Regions from separate parts of the Homo sapiens genome. Here regions 1 and 2 are each linked to region 3. The links are contacts of gene promoters, found by promoter capture Hi-C in human tissues and cell types (Jung and others, 2019). All regions are on one chromosome and are shown on one strand. Each heading gives the region's core, a stretch centred on a gene start or on the middle of the fragment in contact. The rest is flanking DNA. Distances are from core to core; before and after follow the strand shown. Region 1 overlaps CNPY1 (canopy FGF signaling regulator 1). Region 2 has its middle 38 kb from the start of CNPY1. Region 3 holds the start of EN2 (engrailed homeobox 2).

Evidence for each region. Contacts are between HindIII fragments. The study calls those that stand out against the background at their distance.
Region 1: a contact is called between a fragment that was not itself captured here and the fragment with the promoter of EN2 in region 3, in 8 of the 25 tissues and cell types used here (H1 embryonic stem cells, heart left ventricle, liver and 5 more).
Region 2: a contact is called between a fragment that was not itself captured here and the fragment with the promoter of EN2 in region 3, in 2 of the 25 tissues and cell types used here (H1 embryonic stem cells and spleen).

The regions. Positions count from the first base shown.
Region 1 is chr7:155,537,434-155,541,296 of GRCh38, reverse strand. All of the region lies in intron 2 of CNPY1 (canopy FGF signaling regulator 1), which reads left to right. Among named protein-coding and RNA genes, the nearest start is that of CNPY1, 7.2 kb to the left of the region's middle. The HindIII fragment of the contact is 3,908 bases long and covers 1-3,717 here.
Region 2 is chr7:155,582,684-155,586,507 of GRCh38, reverse strand. No RefSeq gene overlaps it. Among named protein-coding and RNA genes, the nearest start is that of CNPY1, 38 kb to the right of the region's middle. The HindIII fragment of the contact is 4,336 bases long and covers 355-3,824 here.
Region 3 is chr7:155,455,924-155,459,576 of GRCh38, reverse strand. EN2 (engrailed homeobox 2) reads right to left here and starts at 1,448. Exons shown (of 2, transcript NM_001427.4): 1 at 515-1,448. The coding sequence starts at 1,199. EN2-DT (EN2 divergent transcript) reads left to right here and starts at 2,459. Exons shown (of 3, transcript NR_186580.1): 1 at 2,459-2,587. RefSeq lists an enhancer at 1,795-2,786. The HindIII fragment of the contact is 19,554 bases long and covers 1-3,653 here.

The DNA.
Region 1 (3,863 bases), core at 514-3,013, 81 kb before region 3:
AAATGAAATTCACGTGCCACGTCTTGCTCGATGTTCATGATAGGCTGGGAGCTCGTGCTCCGCTCGCGGAGGTCTCTGTCTTCAGAACAGCGGGAACGGGGAGGCTCAGCGGGGGAGCACTCACTAAAGTCCAGAGTTCAGAGAGCTGCCTCCTTGGCCTGGGGCTGTTGGGGACAGGTGGGAGACCACCCCTGCTGCCACCGTAGGTGGGATGTCTTCACTCGGTAGCTCCTCACACTGGCACAAAGCCTCGTCTGTTCAGCAAAATGCAGCCAGCATCTCAGCACTGCGGTTATTTCCCTATTATTTATTTATTTTTTAAACAAATTGGATTAATGGCACCTTTCCTAAAACAGGGCAACACAGCACAAGACAATTTGGAGGCAGTTACTTCACATTTGCTTACCTGTCTCCTCTCCCAGTGATGAAAGGCTGGCCTCCCGAATGAGGGTACGCATGCACTGCTGCTCTCAGCGGGGCACCCAGGGTCAGGGAGCTGGAGTCGAGGGGCTCACATTTGCTTTTAGATTTTGAACCTCCGAGCTCCAGTCACTGGATACAGGATGACCAGGGCAAGCCGTGTGTTACCCACAGGGACCCAGGAAACGTGTGTTCACCGAGGGAATTGTAAATGATGAAGCAGAGCTCAGGGGCGTCCTCTGCCTCGGCTGAGTGTGAGAGCAAGGCCTCGCTCTCTGCGAAACTTGGAAAGTTCAAACAGAAAGCACCAACAGCAACAGTGAGGACGAGGCCAATATCCGGTTTGCACCAACACCTCATGCTTCTTTAAGCTTTAAAACACAACTCTGGGAGGTAAACTGGGCCACTGTAATTAGCTTCATTTTAGAAATGCAGATGAGGCCCAGAAAGCTTTAGTGACTCACTTAATTTTGACAAATTAGTATTAATTTAATTTGCTGATAAGTTAATTTAGAAAAATTCCAATACCATTTGCTAGCGCTAAGATGAGGAGAACGAGACCCCAGTGCACGGTGCTTTGGCAAAGCCGAGCACTTGAATTAAAGGACATTGGAAGTCCTTCGAAGCTGTCTCAGAATTCTGGACTTTCTAACCTTGTTTCCTCCTCCAGCCCCCAAGTGCAGAGAGCCTCTCCCTGGAATTTCCTTATCCGACTTAGGAAACTTCTTTCCAAAAGAAATACAATTGTCTTAAGATCTCTTCCCGAGGAATCTGATCAAATAACCAGGAAAGATTTAGCCACCAGAGGAGAGAAAAGCCTAAAGGTCACCCCCACCCCCAGACTTTTCATCTGTTCTTCTGAGGGCAGCTCAAAGTGATGACCCTGGAGGCTTTGTCACATAAGAAGAAAATCTGTGTTCACGGTGCAGTTCTACCCCTCACCTTCCCATAACTTGCTGGTCCTATTCAGTTTCCTAAGAGAATCGTTGACAAGATAATGTCTGCCTCCTGCGTCCATTCCTTTCTCCTAAGAATCACTGACTCTCCCCTAAAATGGCCCACGGGCCCCCACTTCCCTCTCCTCCATGAAAAGGGTATTTAAGTCTCAACCATCTTGCCCTTGTTGGAGTCTCATATTTCATATGGCTCCCATGCTAACACACATGAATGTTTGTCTGCTTTTTTCCCCCCGTTAATCTGTTTTTCAGTCATTTCAGCAAGCCTTCACAGGGAGCAGAAGGGAAGCTTTCCCTCTGCTCCCACACTATTGACAGAGCTACCCCATCCCATTATGTACTATGAAACAACAGGGCACTATAACATCCTGGAGCTGTGCAGTGTGCAACCTGCACAACTGTACATGGACAAAATGAGAGGGCTGGCTATTCTATCAGGCCAGCCAGGAGGTGCAGGGGGATTCAGTCCATCAGCAATTTTCCTACTCGCTAGAGGGCCATGAAATCCGTGTAGTGGCATACAAGAATGTAGAAATATATATTAAATATCAGAGTACATCTTATAGAAAAGGAAAGTATGTTTTGTGACACTTTATATAATGGGTTTTGGTGTAAGAAGTGGGTCATGTCCAAAAAATTGGAAGCCACTATAGCAGATGGCTGTCCTCAGCATGATACGGTAGCCTAAAGATATTTGATTTAGGAAGATTATTAATACCCAAACAATGCCACAACAATTCCTGACTCCTTCTGCAGAAAGAAAATCAGAACATCTCCTCTGAATCCTCATATTACAGCAGTGACAGCTTTGGCTTAGCGGCCTACGCTTTCTATGGACCAAGGGACCGCAGCTGGGCAGGGTGGGGTGGGGAGCGACAAAGAAAGGGGCCCGAAGCTGGCTCCTGGCCCCTGGTGGCAGCAGCCTTGGGGCTCAGATTCCTGCTGATGTGCCCTGGCACTGGTCTCCTTTGGATCAGCATTCCGGGTCTACATGTGGTGTGGACTAGGGGAGGAATTCTTCCCCCATAGGAGCTCACACTCTGACCCAGAGACCTCAGCAGCCGCCAGTGTGAACGCCACGTCTCAGAGAGTGAAGGGTGAGTTGAGTGGGGTGGGCAGGAGGTGAATAGGAGGGGGCGCGAGTCAGCCCATGGCGGTGCTCAGAGCAGAAAAGTGAACAGCTTTGCATGGGGTCTCTTTTTTAACAAGGAGGACATTTGTCCAGGATCTCCCACCCCCAGCCCCCAGAACTCCCCCTCATATCTCATGGGTCAGGAGGGCCTCTAACGCCTGTGGCTAGACCAACTGCGGGGCAAGTGGGGCATTCGCAGACGTCCCTCAGATCAATCCAGACCCAAGCTCAGGGCCTTGTGGGGGCGTGGCCTGTCCTGGGCACGTGAGGAGGGGCAGAGTCTGGGGTTAGCAGGAGGGGGGTGGGAGGGCTCTTTGGTGGATGGTCCCCAGATCTGCCACAGTTCAGGGTCACACGCGGGTGAAGGCGGAGAGCCCAGGAGACAGTGAGACCAGCCTGCAGGGTCCCCAGTGTCTGAAAATGAGGTTGGTGGCAACAGTCCCTAGTACTTACTTGCATTTTCTTGCAAGCACAAGAGGAAGGGATGGTGTGCAGATGGACTGCAGGGCTGGAGGCCACACTTAGCAACCAGGAGTTTCAGGGATCACCCCTAAATTGTTTTGCAAGGGCTGTTGGCCCATGGATGCCACCTTAATAAGAAAATTACTTCAGCAACAATTGAGAAAGATGATGGTGCAAGAAAATGATGTTCACAGGAACCTGTAAATTGCCATGTGAAAAAATCCGAAGGGTATTTTCCTATTATTAAGTGCAAAAAAGAGGTTATTAACCCGCACATACAGATGCCCTCTTACGTGTCTGTGTCTGTTCACTGCAGGAGGGAGCCTCAGGAAATACACTGAGACAATAGTCACAGTTCTTGTATCTGCGTATTACTGCTGAGCTCCTTTCTTTCTTTTTTTGTTTATCTGTTAAAATTTTTTCTATAATAAACATATTACTTGTTAAATTTAAAACATAAAGTTTTGAAGGTTTTTTTTTAGAAATCAAAAGAATTCCATGATAATGTAGAAATTCCTATTCTAAAAAGTAGCATTGTTCTTAAGAAGATGGAACACTATACACAGACACGTGATTTTGTTTCGTATAAAATATTCAACAGAGGCTGGACGCAGTGACTCATGCTTGTAATCCCGGCACTTTGGGAGGCCAAGACGGGTGGATCACCTGAGGTCAGGAGTTTGAGACCAGCCTGGGCAACACGGTGAAACCCCATCTCTACTAAAAATACAAAAAATTAGCGGGGTGTGATGGCACATTCCTGTAGCCCCAGCTACTCAGGAGGCTGAGGCAGGAGAATCACTTGAATCCAGGAGGCGGAGGTTGCAGTGAGCTGAGATCGCACCATTGCACCCCAGCCTGGACGACAAAAGCGAAACTCCGTCTCAAAAAAA
Region 2 (3,824 bases), core at 1,273-3,772, 130 kb before region 3:
GGGAAGTGCCTGGTTCAGCTAATCAAGGGGTGCTTTACTACCCTGAGAGGGAGGTTGAGCTCTGCCGGAAAAGCTGGATATGAATTTAAGGTGGGTATAGAAAATTAAGCGAATGAGGAAAAAAGTCAGTTAACTCCAGGATATACAAAATTTGTACAAGAAAGGAAATGTAATCAAGTGCAGGGACTCAGTGGTAAGAGGTAGCTCCACAATCATAATGTCAATGCTGGGCATGGATTTAACAAAAACAAGCACATGCCCAGGCTGGGGGAACGAACAGGGGGGCATGTGAATATGTGTCTGCCACAGCGCATGTGTGTGCAGCTTCGTGTGTGTGCAGCTCTGTGTGTGTGTGCAACTGTGTGTGTGTGTGTGCAGCTGTGTGTGTGTATGTGTGCGTGCAGCTCTGTGTGTGTGTCGGGGGCGGTTACTGAGGTAATTCCTCATCCTAGATAGGAAGTTCAGTGAGTGCAACATTGAAATGCTAAGAGATGGCAGTACATGGCTGTTTATTTAGAAATGTGGAGCTCAGTAGGAAACAATCTGCAAAGCTGGAAGTGTTGCTTCTGGGGAGTGAGCACTGCAGGTGCAGTGGGGGCCAGGTTTTACATGTGCTGCTTTGAGAAACATTAAAAGGATAACTGATATCCCCCAAAAAGCACCGCAGTATGAACACACACACACAAACACACACATAAACACACGCATAAACATACATGCATAAACACACACATAAATACACGTAAACACACATACGTAAACACACGCACACACACAAACCCATAAACATACGCATAAACACATACACACATAAGCACATAAACACACATACACACATACACCCATACAAACACATAAACACACAAACACACATATACACATAAACACATACGTATACACACATAAACACATACATATACACATGAACACACACACACTCTGTCTCCCCTGTGTGTAGCCTGAAACGTCAAAGAATCGGCCGAGAGAAAAGGTGAGCCCCCTAGAGTGGAGAATTGACGGGCCATGTTGCAGGAGGAGCCTGGCTGATCTGAAGTTCCTCATTCCCGCCCTGGTCTGGGTGTGCTTGCCGTCATTTCTGAGGCATGTGCTTTTGGCTGGAGCCCCAGGTACAGCTCAGCTGTGCTCAGATTAACAGCGTCCATCAGATGGAAGTAGATTTTCCTCCCTGTGTGCTTCTGATAACACAGGCTGGATGTGTTCTGGGGAAGGATGAACCAAATGCATACAGCTTTTCTTATGATGAGAGGAAACAGGGAAAAACATGCACGATGCAAATGCAATATTATTTATGATCCGTTGGAACATTATTTCCCTAGCGTGAGCCCTGTTAAACACAGCCTTACTGTGCCTCAGGCAACGAGGCACATATGGCTGTAAACTCCTATTACAACTGAGAGCAGAATTGAGGTCTGATCCGATCATCGCCCTGCTGCTGGGGAAGTTTAATGATAGCTAGAGATGCTTAGTGTCTAATTTGTTTTGTCAGAATTGTGGTTCCCAAGGTCACGAATGCTGCAGCATTGCAGCCTGCAGAATATGGCGTGTCACGTGGCATGACAGATCATGAGAGCAGCTATGTTCCATCTGAGAAAGACCGTCTTATGCCAAGCTTTGTTTTCAGTGGCTTTAGTTCAAGGACAGTTGGTGCAATAGCAGGGCTGGAAGTGGTCTTGTAGCTCACTGAGTAATATCCCCTCACTTGGTGGAAACGTGGAGTCCTGGGGTCGTTGTGACTTGCTCCACGTCAGTCCATTATTGATGTTTCAGAAACACTTTCTACTGGGTGTCCATTGTGTCCCAGACTGGAAGTTATGTCCAGTGCCAAGGTCCAGGGAGAGTGGTGCCCAGCCCAGCCCAGGGAGCCCCTCTCTGGAGGATTGGTGGGTTGGGGGTTCCGATGGAGGCTGGAGGTGCTGGAACCAGGCTCAGACTCACAAGGAGGGGCAGGATGGTGCTCTGGGAAGTCTTCCTGGAGGAGCTGATCTTGACTAAGTCTTGAAGGACTAGGAACCACTGGGAAGGGTGGCTCAGCCTTTCAGACCGAGGGGCAGCCTGTGCGCAGAGGTGCAGTGCATGTACAGAGCTCTCAGCAAGGTGCCCAGAGGATGGTGCTGCCGTGTCGCAGCCAGGGGCCCCTCGTGCAGGGCTTTTATGCCAATGCAGAGGATAACCCTTGGGGTCACTCTTCCACTGTCCTCATGGGTAGCATCCGGCTTCCTTCTCTCCATACGAATCTCCCTTATCCTTAAGGTAATGTGGGAACCCTTGGTGGAACTTGGTAGAACTTGGGCATTCGGGTCTTTGGGTCACAGTTGGGTTGGTTTTCAGCAGCATGACTGTGGAGAATGTTGTGGAGAGCCTGGAGTGGGGAGAGAAGCCTGGAAAAGAGGCCTGCAGTCATCCAGAAGAGGGAGGAGGATGGGGGTGAAGAGGAGGTGAGTTGGAAGCTATTGAGAGATTCAGTGGTTGAATGGAGGGGTCGGGGAGGGTGGTGGTCTATGGTAACTCCTGAAGCTCTCCCTGGTTGGAGGTCCATGCCCTCCCAGGCTGGGGCTGCACACTGCTGCTGGATCTACAGTACCGGAGTCTTGTGGGCACTCCTGCCCTCAGAACTCCACTGGACATTGCCCTAGTGGGAACTCTCTGAGGTGGCCCCACCTCTGTGTCAGTTCTCTCCGTGGGAGCTGGGGCTCTCCAGGCCATCCTGTGAAATCTGGATGGAGGGAACCATGTCACCACAGCTCCTATAGAGAGGGCACTGCATAGATACTGTCAGAGTTTACTGCTTGTGAGTTCCAGAGGGGTGGGCTGAGCTGCACCTGGGCCTGCTTGAGCCTAGGTGGGCTTGAGCCCAGGTGGGGTGGCCAAGGAGCACTGCATTGGAACATGGGCAGCAGAGCCTTGAAATCATTCTATCCCCAAGGCCCTAGCGCTCTGGACCTGTGACAGGCAGAGCAGCCCTGAGAAGCTCAGAAGTTCCTGGGGTCACTCTTCCACTGTCTTGATGAGCAGCATCCAGCTTCCTTTTCTCCATACCAATCTCCTTATCAGCGGTCGCTTGGCTACACCCTTGATTTTTCTCCTAAACATGCTTTTTTGCTCTGTATGTGGCCAGGCTGAAAATTTTCCAAATCTTTAGGTTCTCTTCCCTTTTGATTATAAATTTCATCTTTAATTCATTTCTCTCTTCTTTCATTTTACTATAAGCAGTCAAGAGAAGCCAGGCTGCACCCTCAACACTTTGCTTAGTTATTTCTTCTGCTGAATACCTTATTTCATTGTTCACAAATTCATCCTTCCACAAAGCACTAGGAATGAACACAATTCAGCCAAGTTCTTTGCCACTTCATAGCAAAGATGGCCTTTCCTCCAGTTTCCAATAACATGTTCCTCTCCTCCTTCTGAAACTGCATCAAAATGGCCTTTACTGCCCATATTTCTACCAACATTCTCATTCTGACCTCTTATCAATCTTGAGGAAGATTGAGGTTTTCTCAGAGGCTCTCTTCTTCTTCTGTGCCTATACCTGAATCATCCTTGCTGTTCTGTTCACAGCAATGTAGGCTTTTTCTAGCATGCACCTCCAAACTCTTCCAGCCTCTACCCATTACCTAGCTCCAAAGAAGCTTTCACATTTTTAGGTATTTGTTATAGCAACATCCCCACTACTGGTACCAATTTCTTTCTTAGTCTCTTCAGGCTGCTATAACAACATACCTTAGATTGGGTAACTTAAAAAAAATAGATATGTAATGCTAACCATTCTAGAGACTGGGAAGTCCAAGATCAAGAGCCACAAAGCT
Region 3 (3,653 bases), core at 199-2,698:
TCTTCCCCGAGCACAGCCGGGATAACCGGATGGTAGGACAAGTCTGGGGTGGGCTGGGGCATGCGTCCCCGGCCTGGCCTGAGTTGGAAGATCGTAGGGAAGGGGATGAGAGTGTGCACTTCCGGGCCCATCTTCCAGCCACCACGTTCCCACCAAAAAAAACTACAGTGGGGGAGACATGGGCTAGGGGCTGGGAAGAGATGCGCCAAGGCGGGGTGGAAGACAGAGAGGGGAGACAGGGAGAGAGGAAGGAGAGAGAGAGACAGAGAAAGAAAGAAGGTCCCTTCTGCGGTCCTAAGAAGTCTGTACCCCCTAGCGAATCAGTCCTGCCGCTGGACTCCTGGCCGCTGCCCGGGCCGGCGTCAGCTTCACACAATGTCGCGTGAGTCTTTGTGCGTGTGCGCGGGGGAGGTTCGAGATGTTTTCCTCCCGGTAAGTTCCCGCGCCAGCACCGCCCCCCAGCTCCGCGGGCCTCCCCGCGGCGAGCCGGGACGCGTGGTCCCCGCGGGCTCACCTGAAGAAGGCCGGTCCGAGTAGCGCGTACAGTAGACCCACGCCGGCCAGAGCATGGGCTGCGCGCCCAGGTTGGCGCCGGCTTGCGAGCTGTCCGAGTCCGAGCTCACCGACAGGTCGCCGCCGCCCAAGCCGCGGGCCTTGAGCGACCCGTCCAGGGGGCCGCCGGGGTCGCCGCCTTTCTTGGCGCCACCGTGCAGCGAGAGCGTCTTGGAGCCGCCTTCCCCGTCACCCGGAGAGTCGCTGCCGGCGGCTGGGAGCGGCCCGCCCGCGCCGGGCGCACATGGCGGGTTCTGCCGGGGCTCTCGGGAGCCCGAGCCCAAGAGCTGCTCCGAGCCGCCCGCGCCGCCGCCTCCCTCCGCACCGCTCGCGCCGCCTTCGCCGCCGGCTCCGCCGCCCCTTCCTCCTCCCGCGCCCGCACAGCAGGTCCCCGCGTCCTTTCGCCGGCCGAACTCGGGCCGCAGGATGTTGTCGATGAAGAAGTTGGTGATGCGGTGCGGGTGCTGGTGGTTGCCGGGCGCCTGCAGGACCGCGGGCAGCATCAGAGCCCGCCGGCGCCCGGTGTCCGCTTCGCCCGGGCTGCTACCGCCGCCGCCGCCCGAGCCGCCGCCGGGGCTGGATTCCGGCTGCCGCTGTCCCTCCACCGCCGCCGCTGCTTCGCCAGGCTTGGGGTCATTCTCCTCCATGCTGTTCACAGTAAATCCCACACTGGTTCTCCGGGGACGCCCTTCCAAATCAGCCTTCGGCCCTCCCGCGGCGCACACGGAGACCCCCGCGCCCCCACCCCGCCGAGTCTTCCGAGGGCGTGCGCGGCGGCCGCGGCCAGGGCTGAGGTCCTACAAGTCGCCGGCCGCGCTCGGCGCGGAGCCACCTTTGAATCCACGAACTGGGTTAGAAACACCACGAGCCGCCCCGCTCGCCCAGACGATGAGAGATTCAACAGAGCCAAGTCCTCGACTTCGCCGCGCAGCCGGGGTCTAGACAGTCGCAGTGGTCCGGCGGGGACGCGGGCCGCCTCCCGGGCTCCCCGCTCCTCTCCGCGTCCGGCCGCCTCGGGCTCCGGCGCCGCCGCCTGGGCCGCCCGGGGCGAGAGCTGCGCGCATGCAGGCAGCGCGTTCCCCGGCGCTCACGCCCGCCCGGGCCGGCTCCGGCCGCCGCCGCCGCCCGGCCGTCCCCGCCCGCACGCCCTAGCCGGCCCTCGAGGGTGCCGGGCGCCCGCGGTCAGCGCGCCCGCCACCGCCCGCACGCACATGGAGGCCCCCTCCTCGCGGCCGCCGCCCCGCTGCGGGCCGGGGCGCCCCACCGGCGTGCGGCCGCGCCCCCGCCGAGCCCCGCAGAGCTCCGCGGCCCGAGTCGCATGGGTGAGAGACGCGAGGCCAGGGCCCGGCCGGGCCGGGCTGGGCCGCCCGCGCTCCCCGGCCGTCCGCCGCCCTCGCCGCCTCGGCCTCCGCGCGGGCTCGGAAATTTCCAGGCCACTCGGCGCAACCTGAGACACTTTCACTCTGGATTTTTGTTCTTATTTTTAACAGAGCCCCCTCGAGTGACGTCGCAGGCCGGTCTCCTGGACACGTGCCTCGGGCCAATGGCCGCGGCGCCGCGCGCCCACGTGACGCTCCGGCCGCCGCTGGGTGACAGGAGCAGCCCGCCGCCCCTCCTCCCCTTAAAGCGGCCGCGTCCCCCGCTCCGGGTGCGGGAGCCCAGGAACCCGGAGAGACCCCCGACCGCGTCTCCTGCGCTCGCCCGCGCTTTCCCTGTCGCTTCGCGGTTCAGGGGTGTGAGTCACCCGGCGACAGCCCCGCCAGGTCACCCCGGGGCGCGTAGGTGGACACGCACAGGAAGATCGCTATTTTTAAGATTTCCATATTGTTTACCGTGGGGCGAAATCCCACAATTCCTTGCACAAAATGCATAAATAATATTAAATGAGCTGCCGAGATACAAAGGGACTTTTGTGGTCCGCTTTCCTTGCTGATGGAGAGGAATAGTGTCACTCCCATTTGACTCGGTAACCCGGCAGCTTCCTGTCTTAAACGCAGAGCTGGCGCGCAGGACACTCCTCCTGCAGACACTTATTGTAAGTGTGCGTGTGTGTGCGTGTGCAGGGAGGCGCGTGCATACGGCCGCATTCCACCCGGGGACAGCGACCCTCATGAAACATGCTTAGCGATCCGAAAGAGCGGGGGAATGCAGTATGCGGCTCCATTTGCGAAGGGAGAAATCCAGGAGCCTCGGAGGTTCTAAAGGAATCCTTTTTGCCAAGGAGAGGAGGGGTGACTGTTCAGCTAAGACTTCAAAACCAAGTCGCCCGCCCCCCTCTAACTTCTCTACTCTGATTGAGGAGCTCCCAGACCGGTCATCTCGTTTTCTTTGTTTTAAAATCCTTTAAACTAATTTTGCCGGAGAGCAGGGCCCATTTGAAACGAGAATTAGGAATCCAACGGCAAGGGTGGGAGCCCCAGTTGGTTTCTCCCCTCCTCTCTCTTCATCTTTTCTAGACTTTCCTTCCAGCTGTTGTCAGAATGTCCAACTGGAAGTTCTGTTTCCTCTTCTCTTCCCCCTCCTCCCTCGGGCTCCTTCCCATTTGCTCTTGTCTACCCACCAAACACCCGTTGTTACCCCAGGCTCGCCTGTCCATCATTTAAAATGCATTTTTATGGAAATGTGTGAATTCCTGGAAACATCCGATAGGGCAGCTCTGGGGGTGCGGGAGCATTTGCACGCCATGAGTACCCTCAGTGCGGGGGAGGCGGGGAGGCCGCAGCCTGGCACGGACACCCTAGGGCTGATTGGCCCTGGGCAGCTGCACCGTGCTCAGCAACCCAGACCCCCGCAGAGGCAGCCAGCAGGTTGCTGCCAGGCCCTGAGTGAACTTGGGGAGTCTGGCAAGCATCTCCGAGGCAGCGTGGCCTGCCAGGCCACCTGGGGCCTGAAGGTTGCACCCTGGCCTTGCGAAGCTCCTTCCCCAGTGTCCATCCCACGTGCTGTCCTTCCCCTGCAGGCTTCAGAGTGCTGGCTGGGCTGGGATGAGAAACGACAGTTCCCACAGCTGCTCCCAGGAAAATTACCCCCCCACCCAGGACGGGAATGGTGGGGGAGGAGGTGCTGGGCTGGCCTCCTGGCCACTGGACGTGGCTCTGGTC